Regions from separate parts of the Homo sapiens genome. Here region 2 is linked to region 1. Evidence: promoter capture Hi-C in human tissues and cell types (Jung and others, 2019). All regions are on one chromosome and are shown on one strand. Each heading gives the region's core, a stretch centred on a gene start or on the middle of the fragment in contact. The rest is flanking DNA. Distances are from core to core; before and after follow the strand shown. Region 1 holds the start of TMEM121 (transmembrane protein 121). Region 2 has its middle 9.4 kb from the start of MIR8071-2.

What was found. Contacts are between HindIII fragments. The study calls those that stand out against the background at their distance.
Region 2: a contact is called between a fragment that was not itself captured here and the fragment with the promoter of TMEM121 in region 1, in 2 of the 25 tissues and cell types used here (lymphoblastoid cells and spleen).

The regions. Positions count from the first base shown.
Region 1 is chr14:105,524,489-105,529,493 of GRCh38, forward strand. TMEM121 (transmembrane protein 121) reads left to right here and starts at 2,095. Exons shown (of 2, transcript NM_025268.4): 1 at 2,095-2,165; 2 at 4,234-5,005. The coding sequence starts at 4,347. RefSeq lists a silencer at 3,753-3,962. The HindIII fragment of the contact is 20,488 bases long and covers 1-5,005 here.
Region 2 is chr14:105,647,062-105,651,985 of GRCh38, forward strand. It overlaps IGH. Among named protein-coding and RNA genes, the nearest start is that of MIR8071-2, 9.4 kb to the left of the region's middle. The HindIII fragment of the contact is 3,601 bases long and covers 1-3,423 here.

The DNA.
Region 1 (5,005 bases), core at 845-3,344:
TGAATTCCGTCAAATACTTTCTTTGAATTGATTGAGATGATCACATGGTTTTCTTCTTGAGACTAATATGGTGGATCACATCGATTTATTTTCACATGTTGAACCAGCCTTGCCTTTCTGGGATAGCCTCCATTTGGTTGGGGTATTTGTGTGTGTGTGTTTTTAATGCTGCTTGATTCTATTTGCTGATAATTAGTTGAGGGTTTTTGTGTCATGTTGGCATTGGCGGCTGTTGATTGTCTTTTCTCTTGCAGGTTGGATTTCCTGATTCTTCACATGCAGAGTAATTTTAGATTGTCTCCTGCACATTTAGACATTATGTTATGAGACTGGTCTTATTTAAATCCCATTGAGAATGTTGGCATTTTGTTTTATCATGCAATCAACCTAGTTGGTTTCAGGCCACAAGTTCAAATAGGCTCCTGTGGGTCCTGCCTTCCATGTCGGTTTTGTTTTCAAAGCCTTTGCAGTGGGACTCAGATCTGTCCTTCGTATGCACTGCCCAGTGGCCAGTGTGGGACGTGGGCAGTGGGCTGTCCTTTTGTTCAGTTCTCAGCCTTTGGGATGTGAATGAGGGTTTAGACTTGTACATCATGTATGGCTTGCACAACTTCCTGGGGTTGCTTTTTTTTTTTTTTTTTTTTTGAGACAGAGTCTCACTCTGTTGCCCAGGCTGGAGTGCAGTGGCAAGATCTCGGCTCACTGCAACCTCCATCTCCCGGACTCAAGCAATTCTCCTGCTTCAGCCTCCCGAGTAGCTGGGATTACAGGTGTGTGCCACCACGCCCGGCTAATTTTTATATTTTTAGTAGAGATGGGGGTTTCACCATGTTGGCCAGGCTGGTCTCGAACTCCCGACCTCAGGTAATCCGCCCACATCGGCCTCCCAAAGTGCTGGAATTACAGGTGTGAGCCACCACGCCCAGCCCATGGATTGCTTTCTACTGCTTCTCCCTGCCCACCATCTCTCCAGCGACAGGGGACCACATCTCCTGGGGCTGGAAAGGAAGGCTCTTCTGCCTCAGCGTTTTAGGTGCTTGTAAACCCTATGCCTTGGTCATGGCTTTGGTGGGATACCTAGGGGCTGGGGCATCAGAGAATGGAGAAGAGTAAAAAAACAACCACTACCAAAAAACCCCATCCTCCCAAACCCTAACATCCCCCCGGGCATTCTCCTGCACCCTGGGAGCATTAGGCGACCTTTTTCTTTCCTCCCCTTGTGCCAGGACTAGAGAACTTCTGGAGCTCTCTGTCCTCTTCTGGCTTTCAGGCCGTGTTGAGTCCAGGCCCGGGGATACGGGAAGAGAATCTGGAAGTTCACTACCAGTTGGGTGGTGCCTCAAATTCTGGTCTTTCCACCAAATCTGGTGTCCCTTTACCTCTCTGACCCTCAGTCTCCTCCTATGTCAGAGGGAAGTCACAGCAGTTCTGGGAAGGAGGGCAGGCAGGCAGAAGGTGCCCTCGGGTTCTTCTCTGGCTCACACGGGATGGACAGGATGTGGGGGGAGGGGCTTAGTGCCACCTCAGTGACAAAATGAAGCCCAAGTCCCCAAACCCTAGCTTGCCTCCTGGACGGGCTGGAGAAGAAGGTGGGGGCCGCTCATCATTCCTTTCCTCTGCCCTGAGAAGAAACCTGGGAAGGCTGGGTTTCTCCCCAAAGAGGACAGAGGGTGGCGCGGAGGGCCCCGGCGGCCAGGCCAGCCCCGCGCCTACATCCCTGTCAGCTCCTGGGCCGGTGGGCGCCTGTCCGGCTGAGTGGGGTCGCTCTAGGGGGCGGCAGCGGAGTTTCAGGGCGCGGGGGGCACTGGGCGGGACCCTGGGATTCTGGGCGGTGGGTGAGGAGGGTGGAGACGGGACTCCGCGCCTGGGGGTGCGCGAGGGCGCCCCGCTCCCCAGAGCCACCAGTCCTGCGCGCCGCCGCGCGGTGCTGTCGCCGTGGCAACCGGCGCTGCGGAGGGGGCGGGGCACCGGCACCCCCGCGCTCCCAGGTCCCCAGGTCCGGCGGGGCTCGCGGGCCGAGGGGCGCGGGGCGGGGCCTCTGGGTCGGGGGCGGTGCCGCGCGGGCGGGGGAGGGGCGCGGCGGGAGGAGCCGGCGCGGCCCCGGCAGTGGCGGCAGAGGCTGGGCGGGCGGGCCCGGGAGCGGCGCAGCATCTGCGGGCGGCGGGGTAGGCGCGGGCGCGGGCGGGACTGGCTGGGTGCGCGGCTGCGTCCGCGGAGGGGGCGGCGGGCCTGGGCGACCCTGCACCTCTGGGCCGTGGGGACTGTGGGGTGGGGCGGGGGCCGATGCGGCAGGGGTGAGGCCTGGGGCCGGCGGGGTGACGGGGACCCGGCCCTGCGTGGGGAAGCCTCGGGGGGACAAGCAGAGACGCAGCCTGCTGGGAGCGGCCCAAGCTCTGCACCGGCCCGCGGCGGGAGCACAGCAGCCCCCTCCCGCCCCTCCTCCCGGGGGCTCCGAGGGGTGGTTATGGGGCGAGGGTCCTTGCGGGGCCCGGGCAGTGAAGGGCCTGGAGGCCCCAGAGTCTGTGCCAGGTCTGAGCCGCGGGGCGTGGGGGGAGGAGGGGCCTCGGCCGGGGCCCAGGAGACCCAGGACAGGTGGGCCTGGGGCCAGGTCCCTACGGAGAGGTGGCCGGGCCGGGCTCTGGCTTGCCGGGGTAGGGGCTCCGCTAGGGGCTGGAGTCCGTCCCTTCGCCAGCGCAGAGCCCCTCGGCCCGCATCTGCCAAGTGACTGAGGATCGAGCGACAGCGTAGTGGGGCGGAGGGGCTGGAGGCACGGCCGGAAAGGGTGAGCGGCGCCGTGGCTCCCCCGCTATTTATTTGGCCCCGCCACGCGCGGAGAGGGAGGAAATTCTCAGGCTGCGGCTGCAGCTAGGGGAGGCCCAGGTGGGCCTGGAATGGGCCCAGAGAGGGCTTCCTGGGTCAGACGTGTAGATCCAGTGGACGTGAAAACCGGGTGAGTGTCCCGGTGGGACCCAGAGCGCGGGGAGGCTTGGAGGCAGGGGCATGGGCTGAGGACCCTCAAGGCACCCTCCTCGCGACCTGTCAGAGCTCCGAGGGGTGGGGGTGTCCTGTGTGTGGCTGTGGGGATCCTGGGCGGCGGGTGCTGGGTGGGGGCAGGGGTGGGAGTGCAGAGTTCAACGCTTTCCCGGATCGGTGGGGCCTGCGGTGTCACCAGGGCAGTCCGAGCGCCCGACTGTCACGGGGACATTAAATTTTATGCCTTTGTCTAGACACGGCAGTAAACGGAGCCCCAGGCCTGGGGCTGTGGAGGGGGTGAGGGGCTGGCTGGGAGTAAGCCTGTCAGTGACTTTGGGGTGGGTGCGGGTGTGCGGGCCTCCATTGTCACCCAGGTGTGCACAGGCCCAGGTGCGGGGACTCCGACAGCACGGCCATGAGGACCAGTGCCAGGTGTGTGACAGAGGTGCAGGGGCCTGTGGAAGCCCGACGGGCCTTGGTGGACGGGCTTCCCGAGATTCGAGGGCAGCCACAGGCATCGCCCTGGCGCAGAGGAGCAAAGCAGGGTGGCTCTGCCGGGGCAGAGGGTGGGGGACAACACCTCGCCAAGGCAATGCGGAGCCATGGGGAGCAGGGCAGGCAGTGGCCACGCGCCCAGGATGGTGGACAGGAGGGGAGACCGAGCCTGCCCGTGCAGGGAGGAGGGGCGTGGGGGCTGCCGGGCAGGGGCGGGGAGGCTCGGAGAGGCTTGTGGGACGGATGCATCGGGACCTGGGTGGCTCTCGGTCCGGGATCAGAAAGCCTGGGAGGGCCGAGGCCTCCTTGGGTACTCCAAGAGCGGAGGGGCAGGCCCGCCTCCCTGCCCAGTGCGGCGGCGGGGAGAGGGTATTCCCGGAACTCCGCGGAAACGGCCTGAGGCCAGCAGCGCGGGCGTGGGGTCCGGGCCGCCGGAGCCAGGAGGGAGGGCGGCGCGGGCCCAGCAGTGACAAACCCCCCCGGGCTCCGGGAACGAGCTCGGCGGGCAGAAAACGCGTCCGTTCCGTTTCCTTCCTGGCGGCGGGAACGAGGCCCGGGTGCTCTGGCGAGGCAGCAGCGCCCTCTGGAGGCCTCGCTGTGGTTCGCGGCCGCCGGTTCGCGCATGGGCGCAGGCGTGCGCGATGCCTCGGGGCCCCGGCGCGGAGACCGCGCCTGGTGGGAAGCACGCGGGGTGCGGGGGGCGGGGGGTGTTGGGGGAGGCCGCTCCAGCCCGCACCCTGATCTTGTCTCCTCCGGTCTCCCCAGGTTTCGAGCTCGCCGGGCCGTGTCGCGCCATGCCCGCTGGCTGAGCGCCGCAGGGCCTCGTCCCGCCAGGCGTGGGGGCCGCGCGCGCCCAGGCCGGGGCCCGGCGGCCGACCATGGTGCTGCCGCCCCCGGACCGGCGCCACGTGTGCCTGACCACGCTGGTGATCATGGGCAGCATGGCCGTCATGGACGCGTACCTGGTGGAGCAGAACCAGGGCCCGCGCAAGATCGGCGTGTGCATCATCGTGCTGGTGGGCGACGTGTGCTTCCTGCTGGTGCTGCGCTACGTGGCCGTGTGGGTGGGCGCCGAGGTGCGCACGGCCAAGCGCGGCTACGCCATGATCCTGTGGTTCCTTTACATCTTCGTGCTGGAGATCAAGCTCTACTTCATCTTCCAGAACTACAAGGCGGCGCGGCGCGGCGCGGCGGACCCCGTGGCGCGCAAGGCGCTGACGCTGCTGCTGTCTGTGTGTGTGCCCGGCCTGTTCCTGCTGCTCGTGGCGCTGGACCGCATGGAGTACGTGCGCACCTTCCGCAAGCGCGAGGACCTGCGCGGCCGCCTGTTTTGGGTGGCGCTGGACCTGCTGGACCTGCTGGACATGCAGGCCAGCCTGTGGGAGCCGCCGCGCTCCGGGCTGCCGCTGTGGGCCGAGGGCCTCACCTTCTTCTACTGCTACATGCTGCTGCTGGTGCTGCCGTGCGTGGCGCTCAGCGAGGTCAGCATGCAGGGCGAGCACATAGCGCCGCAGAAGATGATGCTGTACCCGGTGCT
Region 2 (4,924 bases), core at 373-2,872, 120 kb after region 1:
GCCCTTGTTCACCTTCAGTTGCTCTGCCCTGGTCTGCTGAGCTCCAGGAGGTGCCCCCTGCTCCTTCTGCCCCCACCTGCCCTGCTCACCTGTGGCTGCTCGGTCCTGGTACCCTGAACTCCAATGCCTGCCCCCTGCTCACTCTGCCCTCCCTCAACCCGGGCAGCAATGTCACTCAGGTCACTGTTGCCCCCCTGCCTGTCCTGGCACCCTCTGTCCAGGTTTGGGCTGTTTTTCTGGCCTCATTTTTGTTTTTGCAGCACTTGGCTTGTTCCCTATGCTGTGGAGCAGCCCCAGTGTCCAGTCAGGTCTCCCCAACAGAGCCCCTTGCCCTTGCCCATGTGCCCCTCCTGGGTGAGCTCCCAGATCCTCCCGTCCCTGCACTGCTCCTGCTCTGGAAGCCTCTCCAGAACCTCAGCTCCTCAGTGGCCTCTGCTCTGCTGGGTCAGCTCCCTGAACGCACGGAGCCTCACCCCTCCCCTCGCCCCAGGCCTGCTGCACTCTGGGCCTTTCTGGGCCTCCCTGGACTCTTCCCTCCTCCCATCTGTGCACTCAGCACAGCTCTCCCCTCCACTCCGCTGCTGACCACAGCCCTGCTCCCCGCCAGCAGGTGCCCCAGCGCCATCAGGTGGCTCTGAGCCTAGCCCCTGTGCCTCCCCTGTCCCTGCCTCTGCCTCTGGGCTCCTTGGCTTCCACCCTCCTGTCCTGCTGCCACACTCACCCTCCCTGCTCTGCTCCCGGCTCACCTGCTGTCCTTGGTCCTGGCTGAGAGAGGGCCCCACGGCCAGCACTGCTGACCCTGCCCTGGGCTCCAGTGATGCTGCTGGCCTGGACAAGCCCCTCCGTTCACCTGGGGCCTCTCCTCCTCCCTCGTTCTACTGCCTCCTCAGCTCAGGTGGGTCCTGCCCATGCTGGCATCACCCCACGGCCGGCTCTGCCGCATCCCGTCAGGTTCCTCGTGCTCCCAGCCTGGTCGTCATGGAGGCCTCAGTCAGCCTCTGGTGTGTCCTGCCCTGTTGGCTTGGAAGCCCCTGCCCACGGTCCCCGTCATCTTGCACTGGGTGGGCGTTGGTGCCTGAAGGCTGCCCACCTCCCCCGTGCTGGCTCCGCTTGGGTCTCCATGTGGGGCTGGCCTTGCCCCCACGTCTCCCCAGCCTCTTGTAGCCTGTTCAGCAGCTGAGGTCCAGGAGCGCCCACGGCTGCACCCAGGCTCTGTCCTTCTCCTCCCGAGCCTGTGCCCTTGCCCTGTGCTGACCCTACTCACCGAGGTGGGGGTCTCAGCCCTTCCTGTTTTGGCGCGGTACATGTGGGCAGACTTGCCCACGCCGTCAGCTGCTATTTGTCTTCCTAGGAAATCACAGCTCGGCCCTCAGGTCCCCAGGGGTGTGAACTCCACGCTGCAAAGACTAAGAACAGGATTGAAACCGGCGGCACCGCTTACTTCCTGAAGTTCCCTTTTCTTCTGGTGGTTTCTGTGTCACAGGGTAAGGGGGAGTCCAGACACAGCCGAGGCTGCCTCATGGGTGTGTGGGGATGGGGGTGGTGGCTGCCCCCATACTCGTGGGAGAAGGTGGGGAGCCCGGACCTTGTTCACTGCTCTTTTCTCTGTCTCTGAGTCCCTGGGGCTGGACTGATACTGGCAGTGATTATGACCATTCTGCCCGTGGTCTCAGCCTCTCAATACCTGGGCCTCTCACCTGAAGCTTCTGACCCCCACTGGGCCCTGGTGGCTGCTTTGGCCTGGGCGTCTCTCCAGCTGGCTCTCACTCATGGTGCAGGGAGGGGAGTGTGAGTTCATCCCGCTGAGCAGCTGGCAAAGGCGAGCTGGGATGGAGAAGGGAAGGCGTTCCAAGGCTCAGGTCTGAGCTCACAGGCAGGGGCAGGTCTGGCTGCAGGGAGAATGTGTGTGCTTGAGACCAGGAGGGTCCCAGGGCTGGCCGAGTGGACCCTGCACAGGAAGGCTTCTGAGGCTGGTGCTCCAGAAGGAACAAGATGGGCTGCCAGGAGCCAGGGCCACCAGCTGTGCTCCTGGGGGCCGAGGGGACGTGGGACAGGTGGATGAACACACTGAAGCTGAGTGGAGGTGGTGCAGGGCAGTGTAGCAGCAGAGGGGAGCCAGAGGGGCCCATTCAGAGCCTGGGCAGAGTTGGCCAGAGCCTGTGGTGCAGGTGAGGGGAAGGGGTAGGGGGCAGGGCCCTGGGGCTGAGCAGAGGGGATGGCCTCTGCTTAGCTTAGGGCACTTAGCTTCCTCAGAGGCGAGGGGCACACCCGAGTTGCAGTGGCACTCCAGGGCCACTGGACTACAAGCAGAGAGAGAAATGGGGCCTCCCTGGGGCCTGGGGGATGCTGGCATCATGCAGGGTGGGGAGGTCCAAGGGCAGGTGCAAGTCTCCTACCTGTGCTGGGGGAGCCTGGACTGAGATCAGGAGGGACCTTGCCAGGCCGAAGCTCTAGAGAGAGGGAGGAGCTGAGGAAGGACGAACGTGGAAGTGGGAGGTAAGGGGGGATGGTATGAGGCCAGAGGGACTGGGCAGACCAAAAGCCCGAGGAGGTGTCGCACAGGAAGTGTCCAGAATGGAATAGGAAGTGTCCGGAATGGAAAAGGAAGCATCCAGCATGGAACAGGAAGCATCCAGAGTGGAACAAGAAAGGTCCAGCATGGAAAAGGAAGCATCCAGAGTGGAATGGGAAGCGTCCAGAGTGGAACAGGAAGCATCCAGAATGTAACAGGAAGCATCCAGAGTGGAACAGGAAATGTCCAGCATGGAACAGGAAGCATCAAGAATGTAACAGGAAGCATCCAGAGTGGAACAGGAAATGTCCAGCATGGAACAGGAAGCATCCAGAATGTAACAGGAAGCATCCAGAGTGGAACAGGAAATGTCCAGCATGGAACAGGAAGCATCCAGAATGTAACAGGAAGCATCCAGAGTGGAACAGGAAATGTCCAGCATGGAACAGGAAGCATCAAGAATGTAACAGGAAGCATCCAGAGTGGAACAGGAAATGTCCAGCATGGAACAGGAAGCATCCAGAATGTAACAGGAAGCATCCAGCATGGAACAGGAAGCATCCAGAGTGGAACAAGAAACGTCCAGCATGGAACAGGAAGCATCCAGCATGTAACAGGAAGCATCCAGAGTGGAACAAGAAACGTCCAGCATGGAACAGGAAGCATCCAGCATGGAACAGGAAGCATCCAGCATGGAACAGGAAGCATCCAGAGTGGAACAAGAAATGTCCAGCATGGAACAGGAAGCATCCAGAGTGGAATGGGAAGCGTCCAGCGTGGAACAGGAAGCATCCAGAGTGGAACAAGAAACGTCCAGCGTGGAACAGGAAGCGTCCAGCATGGAACGGGAAGCATCCAGAATGTAACAGGAAGCATCCAGCATGGAACAGGAAGCGTCCAGCCTGGAGCAGGAAGCGTCCAGTGTGGAGCAGGAAGTGTCCAGCGCGGAACAGGAAGTGTCCAGCGTGGAAAAGGAAGCATCCAGCGTGGAACAGGAAGCATCCAGAGTGGAACAAGAAACGTCCAGCGTGGAACAGGAAGCGTCCAGCATGGAACGGGAAGCATCCAGAATGTAACGGGAAGCATCCAGCATGGAACAGGAAGCGTCCAGCGTGGAGCAGGAAGCGTCCAGTGTGGAACAGGAAGCATCCAGAGTGGAACAGGAAGCATGCAGAGTGGAACAGGAAATGTCCAGCATGGAACAGGAAGCATCCAGCATGGAACAGGAAGCATCCAGCATGGAACAGGGAGCATCCAGAGTGGAACAGGAAATGTCCAGCATGGAACAGGAAGCATCCAGGATGGAACAGGAAGCATCCAGTGTGGAACAGGAAGCATCCAGAGTGTAACAGGAAACATCCAGCGTGGAACAGGAAGCATCCAGCGTGGAACAGGAAGCATCCAGCGTGGAAGAGGAAGCGTCCAGCATGGAACGGGAAGCGTCCAGAATGGGCACTTTGAAGGGAAATCATGTCCCTCCCACTAAATGTGCTCTCCACAAGGACCCGGCCTGCCCTTGTGACCCTGCTGGATCCCTGAGCTGGCACCAGCCCTGCCCTCAGAGAGAATGTCCAGGAGACAGGTGGAGGTGCACGTGTGGGTCCCTGGGGAAATCCATCCTCCAGCCGCAGGCTCCCAGTCGGCTCCCAGCCTCTCGTTCCAGCTTCACCCCATGGAGCTCATAATGGGCTCAACCTCCCAGGCTGGGGGAGGACGGAGTGAGGGGCCCCCCACTGCCCATGGCACACCCAGGGGGCTGGGGAGTCTGCACTGGGCTGGGGCAGGGAGGCCTCGTGCAGCCTGTGGGGCTGGCAGCTCAGGACAACACTCGTATCCGTTAACTGTGGCCCTGGCAACACTGCACCCCAGACTGCGTGGCTTAAACAACAGACGTTTATTCCGTCCTGGTTCTGGAGGCCGGGCATCTGGGATGGAGGCCTCGGTGGGGCTGGCTCCTCTGTGTCATGGGAGACTCTGTCCCAGGCTCTCTCCTTGCTGCTGGGCTTTGCCGGCCGTCTCTGGTGCTCTTGGCTTATGGAAGCAGCACCATCTTCACAGGGCGTTCTCCCCACGTGCTGTCTGTGCCCAGATTCCCCCTTTTCATGAGGACAGCAGTCATATTGGATCAGAGGCTTGCCCTACTCCAGGGTGACCTCATCTGAACTTGATTGCAGCTGCAAAGACTGTTTCCAGACAAGGTCACATTCTGCGGTCCTGGGGGTTAGGACTTCAACACATGAATTTATAGGGGACACATTTTAACCCATGACAGTTTGCCCTCCGTTCCCCCCATAATCATGTCCTTCTCACACGCAAAATCCCTGCATCCCATAGCAACATCTCCAAGATGGCTAACCCCTTCCAGCACCAACTCTTAGTCCACAATGTCAGAGAAACATCATCTGCATCAAG